Regions from separate parts of the Homo sapiens genome. Here region 1 is linked to region 2. Evidence: promoter capture Hi-C in 16 types of primary human blood cells and fetal thymus (Javierre and others, 2016). All regions are on one chromosome and are shown on one strand. Each heading gives the region's core, a stretch centred on a gene start or on the middle of the fragment in contact. The rest is flanking DNA. Distances are from core to core; before and after follow the strand shown.

What was found. Contacts are between HindIII fragments. The CHiCAGO score rates a contact against its expected background, and 5 or more counts as called.
Region 1: a contact is called between a fragment that was not itself captured here and the fragment with the promoter of ZSCAN2 in region 2, in 1 of 17 cell types (naive CD4 T cells). The highest score is 6.1, in naive CD4 T cells.

What each region holds. Positions count from the first base shown.
Region 1 is chr15:84,633,365-84,640,212 of GRCh38, forward strand. WDR73 (WD repeat domain 73) reads right to left here. Exons shown (of 8, transcript NM_032856.5): 8 at 5,921-6,848. It also overlaps the pseudogene SCAND2P and the pseudogene EGLN1P1. Among named protein-coding and RNA genes, the nearest start is that of WDR73, 17 kb to the right of the region's middle. RefSeq lists silencers at 24-373, 844-923. The HindIII fragment of the contact is 2,378 bases long and covers 2,346-4,723 here.
Region 2 is chr15:84,597,968-84,604,296 of GRCh38, forward strand. It overlaps ZSCAN2 (zinc finger and SCAN domain containing 2), which reads left to right and starts at 3,042. Exons shown (of 3, transcript NM_181877.4): 1 at 3,042-3,168; 2 at 5,853-6,329. The coding sequence starts at 5,961. It overlaps LOC105370947 (a long non-coding RNA gene), which reads right to left. Exons shown (of 4, transcript NR_186225.1): 3 at 5,893-6,018; 4 at 1,467-1,836. RefSeq lists enhancers at 2,890-2,939, 5,457-6,085 and a silencer at 3,260-3,409. The HindIII fragment of the contact is 3,007 bases long and covers 656-3,662 here.

The sequences.
Region 1 (6,848 bases), core at 2,285-4,784, 36 kb after region 2:
GAGGAACAGTTGAAGCACAGCCCCAAAATAGAACGAACTCTAGCCCGTCCGCAAGAGTGATAAGAAATCGCAGTGTGGGCCCACGCGCGCCGCACGGCCGGGTCGCCGCCGTACCGTGGTGTACGTGCAGAATGCGCAGAGCGAGCGGCACCCGCTTACCCTGCGCTCCTCCGCAGCCTGGGCCGGGCCGCCCGGGACGCTGAGGCGGTGGCGGCAGCCGAGGGGGCCGGTCTTGCGCTCCGCAGGCTCGCGCGCCCGAGCCCGGGTTGCCGTTCGCCGCACAGGCCGCGTTCTCTCAGCCCACGGCGGCGATTAGGCGCTGAGGCGGCCGCCTGCGCTGCGCCGGAGCCTAGGACTCGGAAGCGACCCGGCCGAGGGCCCTGGGTGCCAGCCTCCTTGAGTCAAGGGTAGCGGGTGCATGGCGCAGTGACGGCCCCTATCTCTCTCTCCGCTCCCCAGCCTCGGGCGAGGCCGTCCGGCCGCACCCCTCCTGCTCAGCTGCGGTCGCCATGGCCAATGACAGCTGCGGGCCCGGCGAGCCGAGCTCGAGCGAGCGAGACCGGCAGTACTGCGAGCTGTGCGGGAAGATGGAGAACCTGCTGCGCTGCAGCCGCAGCTCCTTCTGCTGCAAGGAGCGCCAGCGCCAGGACTGGAAGAAGCACAAGCTCGTGTGCCAGGGCAGCGAGGGCGCCCTCGGCCACGGAGGGGGCCCTCACCAGGACTCCGGCCCCGCGCCGCCCGCTGCAGCGCCGCCGTCCAGGGACCGGGCCCTGGAGGCCAGGAAGGCAGCGAGGCGCCGGGACAGCGCCTCCGGGGACGCAGCCAAGGCAAAGGCCAAGTCCGCGGCCGACCCCGCGGCGGCCGCGTCCCCGCCTCGCGCGTCCCCGGGCCGGACAAAAGCCATGGCTGCTTGTTATCCGGTCAATGGAACGGGTTATGTACGTCATGTTGATAATCCAAATGGAGACGGAAGACGTGTGAAATGTATTACATTACGTTAAAGAACGGGATGCCAAGGTAAGTGGAGGTATACTTCGAATTTTTCTAGAAGGTAAAGCCTAGTTTGCTGACATTGAACCCAAATTTGATAGACTGCTGTTTTTCTGGTCTGACCATCGCAACCCTCATGAAGTACAACCAGCATATGCTACAAAGTACGCAATAACTGTTTGGTATTTGATGCAGATGAGAGAGCACGAGCTAAAGTAAAATATCTAACAGGTGAAAAAGGTGTGAGGATTGAACTCAATAAACCTTCAGATTCAGTCAGTAAAGACGTCTTATAGAGCCTTTGATCCAGCAATACCCCACTTCACCTACAATAATTGTTGACGCTATTTGTTAATTTGTGAATACGAATAAATGGGATAAAGAAAAATAGACAACCAGTTCGCATTTTAGTAAGGAAACAAACAACTTTGTGTGTTGCATCAAACAGAAGATTCTGACTGCTGTGACTTTGTACCGCATGATCAACTTAGAATCTGTGATTGCTTACAGGAAGAAGATAAGCTACTAATAGAAAATGTTTTTACCTCTGGATATGAAATAAGTGCCCTGTGTAGAATTTTTTTCATTCTTATATTTTGCCAGATCTGTTACGTAGCTGAGTTAATTTCATCTCTACTTTTTTAATATATGTCAAGTTTGAATTGGAATAATTTTTCTATGATTAGGTACAATTTATCAAAACTGAATTGAGAAAAAATTACAGTATTTCTCAAAATAACGTCAATCTATTTTTGTAAACCTCTTCATACTATTAAATTTTGCCCTAAAAGACCTCTTAATAATGATTGTTGCCAGTGACTGATTAATTTTATTTTACTTAAAATAAGAAAAGGAGCACTTTAATTACAACTGAAAAATCAGATTGTTTTGCAGTCCTTCCTATCTTACACTAATTTGAACTCTTAAAGATTGCTGCTTTTTTTTGATATTGTCAATAATGAAACCCAATTGTAAAACAGTCACCATTTACTACCAGTAACTTTTAGTTAATGTCTTACAAGGAAAAAGACACAATAAGAAGAGTTTAATTTTTTTTTTTTTTTTGAGTCTTGCTCTGTTACCCAGGCTGGAGTGCAGTGGTGCATTCTCAGCTCACTGCAACCCCACTGTCTCCCAGGTTCAAGCAATCCTCCCGCCTCAGCCTCACAACTAGCTGGGACTACAGGCACATACCACCATGCCTGGCTAATTTTTGTATTTTTAGTAGAGACTGGGTTTCACCATGTTGCCTAGGCTGGGGTTTAAGTTAAATTTTTTTAAAAACTAAAGTGACTGGCACTAAGTGAACTTGAGATTATCCTCAGCTTCAAGTTCCTAAGATAAGGGCTTTCTTAAGCTTTCAGATACATGTATCCTCTAGATGTAGACAATAATGTCCCATTTCTAAGTCTTTTCCTTTGCTTCTCCTTAAGTTGATTGTACTTCCAAATTTGCTGTTATTTTTTTTCCTAATACTGTGATTTATTTGATCTACAGACAGGAACCTTGTCTCTGTTGAAGAGCATCAAGGGAAGATTACATACGCCTTGAAACCGAAGTGTGTTGTTACCGACTTAATGTGCAGTAACTCCTCAGATATCTGTTAAGGCACTTCCCAGATGTGATGCCAGTCTTCTTACCTGTACTGAAAGATGTTTAGCTTAGAAAAAAAAAAAAGTGCAAAATCAGATTTAAAAAAAAAAAAAGTAGCAGCAGTGTGGGGAGGAAGGAAGTACCCTTCTGTGGGGAGGGCATAGAAGTACTCTGTGAGTGCAGAAAGTGGGGTAGAAGGTACAGCTCCCTTCTACTTAGAAGATTGGTGTGTTGACCTCAGGCTGACCGCATGAATTTCTGGGATCCTAAATGGGCACCTCCAAAGTGAAGAAGGACCTCGGTTGGCATGTTTTGTAAAACAACATAGGGGAGCCTGTAGCACCTTTCCTTATGTGAGTCAGAGATTACCGGTCCCAATAGGTTACAGTTGGAGACAGATTTTAGGTCTGGTTGGTGGGAAGGGCAAAAGGGTAGGGTTAAACTAAGGTGCAGTAATCCTTAAAACAGTTAAGTGTCCCCAGACCAATTTAGATGACTCAGGTGTGTTATCAAAACTGAAAAACAAGGCCAGTTATGGTGGCTCATGCCTGTAATTCCAGTACTTTGGAGGCTGAGGTGGGTGGATTGCTTGAGCCCAGGAGTTCAGAGATGAGCCTGGGCAATATGGTGAAACTCCGTCTCCTCTAAAAATACAAAAAAAAAAAAAAAAAAAATTAGCCGGGCATGGTGGCAGGCACCTGTAGTCCCAGCTACTCAGAAGGCTGAGGTGGGAGGATCACCTGAGCCCAGGAGGTTAAGGCTGCGGTAAGCCAAGGTCACGCCACTGCACTCCAGCCTGGGCGACAGATCGAGGCCCTGTCTCAAAAAAACAAAAAGCAAACAAAAAACCTGAAAAACAAAATCATAAAACCCTGACAGTCAGTACCTAGATGGATATGGAGGGGAAAACCTAAAACTTTCATTTTAGAAACGTTTCATTTTGGCTGGGCATGGTGGCTCACGCCTGTAATCCCAGCACTTTGGGAGGCAGAGGCGGGCGGATCATGAGGTCAGGAGATCGAGACCATCCTGGCTAACACAGTGAAACCCCGTCTCTACTAAAAATACAAAAAATTAGCCGGGTGTGGTGGTGGGCACCTGTAGTCCCAGCTACTCAGGAGGCTGAGGCAGGAGAATGGCCTGAACCTGGGAGGCGGAGCTTGCAGTGAGCTGAGATTGTGCCACTGCACTCCAGCCTGGGCGACAGAGTGAGACTCCGTCTCAAAAAAAAAAAAAAAAAGAAATGTTTCATTTTGGTTTTTCACCAACCTTCCTTTGATAGGACAAAGCAGATACTAAGAGGGGGAGGAAAGGCTGTTCTGTGTCTGAACCCAGTTGGGCTAGTCCCCAAGAGGAGCTGAGAGCCATGTACTCTAATGCCTCCCTTTTCTTCCCCCAGCCCTGCCTGATGTGGCTCTGGGAATTCCTGCAGAGAAGAGCAGGGGTGGCCAGGAGATAGTGAGCAGCTCCCAGGTGAGTCAGCCATTTCTCTTATATAGATCACCTTTTCTCTCTCTCTTTTTTTTTTAATAGAAATATAACTCTTGAGGCACAGCTCAGTTTTCTCCTTTTGGGAAAACGATTAAGTCATTTGTCTTTACAGATTATATTTCTTTTTTTTTAAATTTTCTCTTTTTATTATACTTTAAGTTCTGGGGTACATGTGCAGAACATGCAGGTTTGTTACATAGGTACACACGTGCCATGGTGGTTTGCTGCACCCACCAACCCATCGTCTACATTAGGTATTTCTCCTAATGCTCTCCCTCCCCTAGCCCCCAATCCCCCTCAGGTCACCTTTTACTACCCAAGTGGGGCTCCTGCAACCAACTCTCTTGCCGCTCAGAAATTCCAAAAGAATTTTACCCAGCAGGGAGGCCCAGTAACTTTACAATTTAGGCTCCAAAATTTCATCAGCCTGCAAAAGGTTGCCCAAATCTCCTTACCCATATGAGGCCAGTGCCATGGCTGTGGTAATGAGGGATTGCATTAAAATTATTCTTTTCTTTGACCCTGAAATCATCAGATTCTACTGATCTGCTTGTTTGCCTTAAAGATACTGGTTACTTCATTCTGTGTCGGGATCTTGCTCACATGGCATGCAGTACTGTGTAGTGGAGGAAAAAAAACAAAAACCAAAAGCTTCAGAGTCCAACAGCCTTGAGTTGAATTCCCAGCCATACCCTGGACTTGCTGTGTAACTCTGGGCAAGTCTGAGAAGCTTCTGGCTCAGTGCATAATGTCAGCTTGTTTCTTTTCTGTCTCCTCCTGCCCGCTTGATTGCATTTAAAAGCCAAAATAATCACTGTTTCATTTCTTCTGTTGTGTCACTTGCCCTGACTCAGGCATTAGAGAGGCATTTTGTTCTGAGGCCATGTGTTTTGAGAAGGGGTGTTGTTTCCTCAGGAGCTAGTGACACCTGGTGATTCGGCTGTGTATATCTCCTAGGAGGCATGGAGGGATCCAGAACCTGGACTGAAGAACCACCTAGAAATAACTCAGCAGAATTCTGAAAATGAGGTCACGCTGGGTAAGAATGCCTTTTTTTTTTTTTCATAGTCAAAGTTAGCTATGGAGTTTCTGTAGTATTCACTACTCCAGACCTTTTTCAAGTTGAATTTTTTTTCTTTTTCCCTATGTCTGTTCTTACGTATTTTTTTTAAACTTTTATTTCAGTAGTGTTTGGGGAACAAGTAGTGTTTGGTTGCATGGAAAAGTTCTTCAGTGGTGATTTCTGAGATTTTGGTGCACCCATCACCCAAGGGTAGTCTTTTTTATCCATCAAGTCTGTACCCAATGTGTAGTCTTTGTTTTTTTCTTTTTTTTTTTTTTGAGACTGAGTCTCATTCTATCACCCAGGCTGGAGTGGAGTGGTATGATCTTGACTCACTGCAACATCTGCCTCCCGGGTTCAAGTGATTCTCCTGCCTCAGCCTCCTGAGTCGCTGGGATTACAGAGATGTGCCACCACGCCCAGCTAATTTTTGTATTTTTTTTTTTTTTTTTTGGCAGAGATGGGGTTTCACCATGTTGGCCAGGCTGGTCTTGAACTCCTGACCTTAAGTAATCTGCCTGCCTCGGCCTCCCAAAGTGCTGGGATTACAGGCCTGAGCCACCACGGGGCCCCAGTGTGCAGTCTTTTATCCCCTCAGTCTGTACCCAGTGTGTAGTCTTTTATCCCTCACCCCCCTGCTCCCACCCTTTCCCCCTGGGTTGAATATTTCAAATCTATTTCTTCCTTAAATCTTACTCAAAGGAAATCCAATACCATAGTCAGTTTCACCAAGGATGAATTTCTTGACCCAGAAAGGAAAGCTCATTTTAGGGAGATGGTCAGTTTAGGTATGTGTCTGAATTTTATTTAAGATAGATGAACGTGGATATATAGTTATGCATTTGGGCCTGAATTTTTTTTTCTAGTTGTTCTTTTCACTGAGCTTTCCCAAGAATCCCCCCAGAATTAAAAAAAAAAAATTACTATCTCCTCTCCCTGGCATATAAAATGGTTGGGATTAGATTTACCAAACCATTACATCTCCCTTTTGTCTGCCTGCAAACAGATTTTCCAATCCATAGGCCCAAAGTGAACTCCCACGTGGAGTAGGATGAAAACCCACAGCATCTAGATCTTCAAATTCTGGAGAAAAAGAGAGTGTGAAAGACTGCTCAGTGGCTGGGGTGAGAGTCAAGTCTGGCCAGGTGCTAATCTGGAGAAAAGCCAAGACCTGGAGCGAGCTGGAGTGGCAGGCCCTGGAGGATGAGAAGGTGGCAGGAGTGCACTGGGGATACAAAGAAACCAAGATTTTTCTGGGAATTCTCAGAGGCCTGGATCCACGAAAAACTCCGCACCTGCCATCGAAACCACCAGGTGTACCGGATTATGGCTGAGCAGCTGTGAGAACATGGCTTCCTGTGGACCCTGGAGCAATGTTGCTATCGGTTCAAAAACCTCCTGACCGACTACTGCAAAGCCAGGAGCACCTACACACCAGGCACCAGTGTCTTCTATGATGAGATGGATGCCCTGTTGAGTCTTGGGGCACTTTCTAACACCTTTGATGCCTTAGAGGTGGTAGGAGGCCTTCTTTGGGATTGAGAGGATTCCAAAGGGAACCAGGGCATAGCACTAGAAGATGTGGCGGGATGGTAATGAAATAGTGGAGGAGTCTCAAGAGGAATCCTGGAGGCTTGGTCCCCAGGCCTTGAGGTGGAATCCCAGTGGCAACTCTCCCCCACAATGGACCTCAGAGCAGTGGGAGCGACGC
Region 2 (6,329 bases), core at 1,792-4,291:
AACCAGAAAACAAAATGGCAAGAATAAGTCAATACTAACATTGAATGTTAATGGACTAAACTCTCCAATCAAAACTGTTATGGAAAGAACTGTTATGGAGCAGTTCTCCCCATTCCCACCCACATCATTTTTCATCAACTCTAGATGAGCTAAGGGCCCCCAAATGCCTTAGGCTGAGCATTCCTTGGGGTGAGGTCCCTTCTTGCTCAGAGCCTAAAGACAAGTAGTGATATTGTTTCTGCCTGTCCAGTGTTTCCTAACAGGCCTTCAGTCTCCAGAGTGGAGAATCTGCCTTTGTGTGGGGTATTAGTAAGAAAATCTAGGAGCCACATCCAATCCTCTCTCACCCTGCTGCATCCAGGGAATGTGCATGTGACTTAGACTCAACCAACCAAATGCTCTTTCCTTGCATGGGAGAATTTGTGTGAGAAAGGCGGAGAAACAGAGATGGCTGTAGTACCACCAGAGGTCATGGGATAGGCAAGCTGAACTTTTTCTGCTCAGAGACTGTTATTGTGGTTTTTGGGGACTTCCTCTTTGTCTCTTGGCTCCTAACTGTTCTCAAGCCTGATTCGTCAGCTCCCTTCTACTCTGTCAGTTCCCTGACAGTCTTTCAGTAAGTCCCTTTTACTTAAGTTAGCCAGATTAGTTCTTAAGCTTTTAACCAAGAATGCTTTCTGGTGGAACAGAGCCTCTCTCACCCTTGTGGTTTGGCCAATGGAGAAAGGACTCTCTTGGGGGAGCAACCTTGAACTTGGCTGTGTTTCCAGGCTTGCTTCGATGTAGCAGGCTGGTCTTAGGGTACTGGCTTGGCTACCAGGGCCCTTCTCAGTAGGATCATTATGCCATGAATTGGTCTTAAATGTGACTTTCTCTCTGTCTCATGTAGGATAGTTGACACTGGCAAGGACCAGCTTCCCAGAATCAGACACAGAGGAGACAGCTTCTTTAGGACTCTCCAGTGACAAGCTAGTGCCAGTTCTGTGGTCAAGGGTTGACATGGGTTAGGAACAGAGGTAAATAAACGCTTGAGCTGCTGGAAAGTTCCATCTGTGCATCCCCAGCCTCCCCTGCATCTTTTCCTTTTTGTGTAAATTTCCATTCCTGGTAAGGATGGACACATGGAGAAACCCATCTTTTTTAATACAATGTCATCCCAAAAAAAATCACTTGGAGGGGTGGTGGCCCAGAATTCTGCATCCAGGGGCTTAGTGCAGACTTCTCAGGCTGGCCTGGAGGTGGTGCTATTTGCATGTGGTCAGTCTGGGATAATAAAGATGCTACCAGGGTATTGGATAAGAATCACTAGCTGAACTTCACTTTGCATCTCTGTAATTGGATTCAAGAGGTTAATTAGTGAAAAACAGGTGAATTTCACATAATCTTTGGAGTGGTGCAGAGGACTTTCTAACACAAAACTCACAGGCTATAAAAAGATAAGATTAACAAATTTGACTGCAAAAAAATTTCAAATTTCTATATTTAATAAACCAGCAGAAAACAAACAGCAAACTGAGAAAGAGTAGCAACTGCTGTGACAAAGGGATAATTTTCTTAATATACAAAGAGCTCTTACAAATAAATCCAATTTAAAAATGGGAAAAGGACCGGGCACGTGGCTCATGCCTGTAATCTCAGCACTTTGGGAGGCCAAGACGGCTGGATCACCTGAGGTCAGGAATTCAAGACCAGCCTGATCAACATGGTGAAATCTCTGTCTCTACTAAAAACACGCAAAATTAGCCAGGTGTGGTGGCGCACGCCGGTAATCCCAGCTACTTGGGAGGCTGAGGCAGGAGAATCACTTGATCCGAGATCGTGTCACTGCACTCCAGCCTGGGCGACAGAGGAGGAAAAAAAAAAGCAGTCATTTCATTGCAGGTGCCTCCAGTAATTGCTCAGTGCAAACATACATAACTATTCTATCACAGACCATTAAGGGTGTCTCTCTCCATTTTTAGATTTTCCGCTTGAGTTTCCAGGTAGTTTCTCACCTGTTTTCAAGCAGGGTTGGGGCAGCCGTTTCTTCAACAGCGCCAGCCGTAAAACACAAAGATGGAGGCCAACCTCCCACACCCGGGCACCCTCCCTTCCCCCATACTGAGATTGACAAGTAAGCAACCCGGTGATCAGTACTAAAATGGAGACGTCAGCCAGGTGCGGTGGCTCACACCTGTAATTCCAGCACTTTGGGAGGCTGAGGAGGAAGGATCGCTTGAGCCCAGGGGTTCGAGGTCAGCCTGGGCAACATATGGAAACCCTGTCTCTATGAAATGTAGATCCTGTCTGTGAGTGTGTGTGTATAAATAAATATATATATATATATACAAATACATACATATATATATTTAAAAAATAAAATGGGGACGTCCAACACGTGTACTAGGGGCGGTGTCTCTGCCTGGGGAGGTGGTGATGACAGGGCAGGCTCCACCCAGGAGAAGCTGGAAGAATGGGAGTTCCGCGGCAGAGGAGGCGGGGCAGGGCGTTCCTCCAAACACAGGAATACCACGTGCGAAAACAAAGGGGTGTGCGAAGACCGGGTGCATGTGTACAGCTGCAAACTGGGGGAAAGGCGCCAGGCTTGGGCGATGAGGATTTGTTCCCCCATGGATTCCCTTCCTGCCCAGGGTCCGCTCTCGCCGGTCGAGGGTGCCTAACAATACTCCTTGCCACAAGGTTCGCAGCCGAAAAGGTCCTTCAAGTCCGGCCATCCAACTTTCACTTTTTATAGACAAATATACAGAGGCCTTAGATAAGTGAAACGGCTTGTCTCGGGTTACAGCTCTAGCCAACACAGGGTTTCTGACGGTCAGTCTGCGGATTTTCCTGCCTCTGGTCCGCAGGCACTGCCCAGGCTGTCAGCCCCAAACCCTACTCCGGGGACCGCGGTCAGGTTCGTCTCCGGGCGGACTACATCTCCCACAATGCCTTGGGCCCAGCCTCCCTCCTGCCGCCCGGCTGGGTGCCGTCTCCACCAACAGAAAGGCAGAATTTCCAGGGCCGTTCTCGGCAGCCAATGAGCGCGGCGGTGGGCGGGCCTCTCCCGTCCATTGTTCTCGGTGCCCCACGGGCTTGAGCCGGGGTGAATCTGGAGGGGCCGGGCCGAGCCCGGGGGCGCTTTCGCACGCGAAGCAACCGCTAGAGCAGGACCTGGTCTCCCGAGAGGTGAGCCGGAGAGGCAGGCCTGGAGCCACGCGGACCCCGGGCAGTAGCCCGAGGTGAGGGAATAGTGGGCCTGGAGCCAGCTGCCGGCAGCTCTGCTGGGGGAGGGGCGTCGGGGTCGCGCTCCGTATCCTGCGGGCCCTGCAGCCCCGATTTACGCGCCGGCTCCGCTCAGCGAACCGTCCCGGACGCGTCTCCCTGGCGGAGAGCTCCTTGCCTCTCCTACCGAGAAGCGCAGGCTTTGGACGGGAAGGGGCATTCGACGACATCCCGCGCAGCGTACACGTTTTACAGATGGGGAAACTGAGGTTCAGAGGGGGCGTGTCGTGCCCCAAGTCAGACCGCAAATTAGCTGACCTGGCACACTTTTCCCAGGCTCCCAAGTAGGAAGAGTTCTCTTACACCATATGCCAGTATTTCTTCTAGTCATTTGAGTAAATACACGTTGAGAGCTTCGGTTTTCCCACTAGCTTTTATTTTTTGTCCTTTTTTTTTTAAGCTTTTGTCAGCTTTTCTCCCCTTTTCATTGAGGGAGGGTTGTTAGTTGAGTCTTTATGATGTAGTAATGATTTTTTAAAAAATTTTTTTATTTTTGTAGAGACTGGGTCTCACTCTGTTGCCCAGGTTGGTCATGAACTCCCGGCCTCAAGCCATCTTCCCTCCTCGGCCTCCCAAAGTGCTGGAATTACAGGCGTGAGCTACAGCGCTTGGGCTAAAAATAATTTTGTATTGCTTTTATAATATTTTAAGTCGTTTGCAATTCCACTGCTTTCAATATTTTGTAGGTGCCGTCCCGTTCTTTTTTCCTGTGAGTTCATTTTTTTTTTTTTTTTTTTTTGAGACGGAGTTTTGCTTTTGTTGCCCAGGCTGGAGTGCAATGGCCTGATCTCCGCTCACCGCATCCTCTGCCTCCCGGGTTCAAGCGATTCTCCTGCCTCAGCCTCCGGAGTAGCTGGGATTACGGGCATGCGCCACCACGCCTGGCTAATTTTGTTTTTAGTAGAGACGAGGTTTCTCCGTGTTGGTCAGGCTGGTCTCGATCTTCCGACCTCAGGTGATCCGCCCGCCTCAACCTGCCAAAGTGCTAGGATTACAGGTCTGAGCCACCGCGCCCGGCTGTGAGTTCATTTTTAAAGGGAATTGAGGACTTACTGTGTCTATGGTTTTTCTGCCCTGCTGATTTTGTGTTTATCCATTATTTTCCTATCAGAAGGATTATCTTAAATCATTAATGATTAATCTTTGTCAATATAATTTTTAAAATATTAAAAACATACAGCGTAATGTGCAGATCTTAAATTTCATATGTTTGCTCTTGTGCCGCCATTGCCAAATGAAGATATTGAAAATTTCCATCATCCCAGAAGGCTCCTTTGAGCCCCTTTCCTGTCATTACCACCTAAAGGTAGCCATTATTATAGCACAGTTTCTTTTCTTTTTTTTCCTTTTCTTTTCTTTTTTTTTTTTTTTTTTTGAGACAGAGTCTGGCTCTTTCGCCCAGACTGGAGTGCAGTGGCACGATCTCGGCTCACTGCAACCTCCTCCTCCCAGGTTCGGGCAATTCTCCTGCCTCAGCCTCCTGAGTAGCTGGGATTACAGGCGCCCGTCACCATGCCTGGCTAATTTTTGTATTTTTGGTAGAGACGGGGTTTCACTATATTGGCCAGGCTGGTCTCGAACTCCTGACCTCAAGTGATCCGCCTGCCGAGGCCTCCCAAAGTGCTGGGATTACAGGCAACCACGCCAAGCCTATAGCACAGTTTCTAATACATGCTGCTATATGGGTGTGTCATAGTTTATTAGCCATTCCCTGCTGCTGGATTTTTAAGGACTCGATTTTTTGGTTATTTTTTTAAGATAAAGTACTGAGGGGCCGAGGCTGGATTGGAGAGTATATGCATGTTTTAAACTTCATACTTAAAGTATGGTAATAATGCAGTTGAGATATTGCCTTTCTTCCAAAGAAGCTCAGAGTGCTTTGACATCTGATCCATTGCTGATCCTTAAGATGCCCCCATAAAAACAGAAACATGAGTGTTATTATCTTTATTAGGTGGTCACCGAGTTTGGTGACTAAGTTGTATGTTAGGTCAAGGTCACACAGTGCAAGTCGAAACTGACTTAGGAGAGTCCTCAGTATTTCAGTCATGGGTTTTTCCCGGGGACTTTGCATTTCTGATACTCATTCTTTGGTGTTTTGGAAGGAACAATGCTGTATTTTTTGTGCTTGGGATACTTTTTTTTTTTTTTTTTTGAGACGGAGTCTCACTCTGTTGCCTGGGCTGGAGTGCAGTGGCGAGATCTGTGCTCACTGCAACCTCCGCCTCCTGGGTTCAAGAGATTCTCCTGCCTCAGCCTCCCAAGTAGCAGGAACTACAGGCCCCCGCCACCACGCCCGGCTAATTTTTGTATTTTTAATAGAAATGGGGTTTCACCATACCTCAGGTGATCCGCCCACCTCGGCCTCCCAAAGTGCTGGGATTACAGGCATGAGACACTGCACCCAGCCTTCTTTTACCACAGAGAGATGTTTTCAGGAATAAGCCATTTTTTCTTTAAGAAGAACAGGAAACGTCTGTTGGTTTGCATATGTAAGGGCCACTTGGTGGTCTGACCTGGGCTTTTGTGAGTTAGATTGCTTTAGGACAGTCTACCTATGGATTATGGTTCTCTTTTTTGTTTCTCAGCGGGACTACTTGTTGATATTTGAGGAGGGAAGTGTCTTACCTGAGAGCCTGGCTGGAGAAGACTGAGGTCCAAGGCTTGAAGCCTAAGTGATTGCCCCAGGACTGTGGATGATGGCTGCAGACATCCCGAGAGTGACCACTCCGCTGAGCTCCTTGGTCCAGGTGCCTCAAGAGGAAGATAGACAGGAGGAGGAGGTCACCACCATGATCCTGGAGGATGACTCCTGGGTGCAAGAAGCTGTGCTGCAGGAGGATGGCCCTGAGTCTGAGCCCTTTCCCCAGAGTGCTGGCAAGGGCGGCCCCCAGGAGGAGGTGACCAGGGGACCACAGGGTGCACTCGGCCGCCTCCGAGAGCTCTGCCGGCGCTGGCTGAGACCAGAGGTACACACCAAGGAGCAGATGTTAACCATGCTGCCAAAGGAAATTCAGGCTTGGCTGCAAGAGCATCGGCCTGAAAGCAGTGAGGAGGCAGCGGCC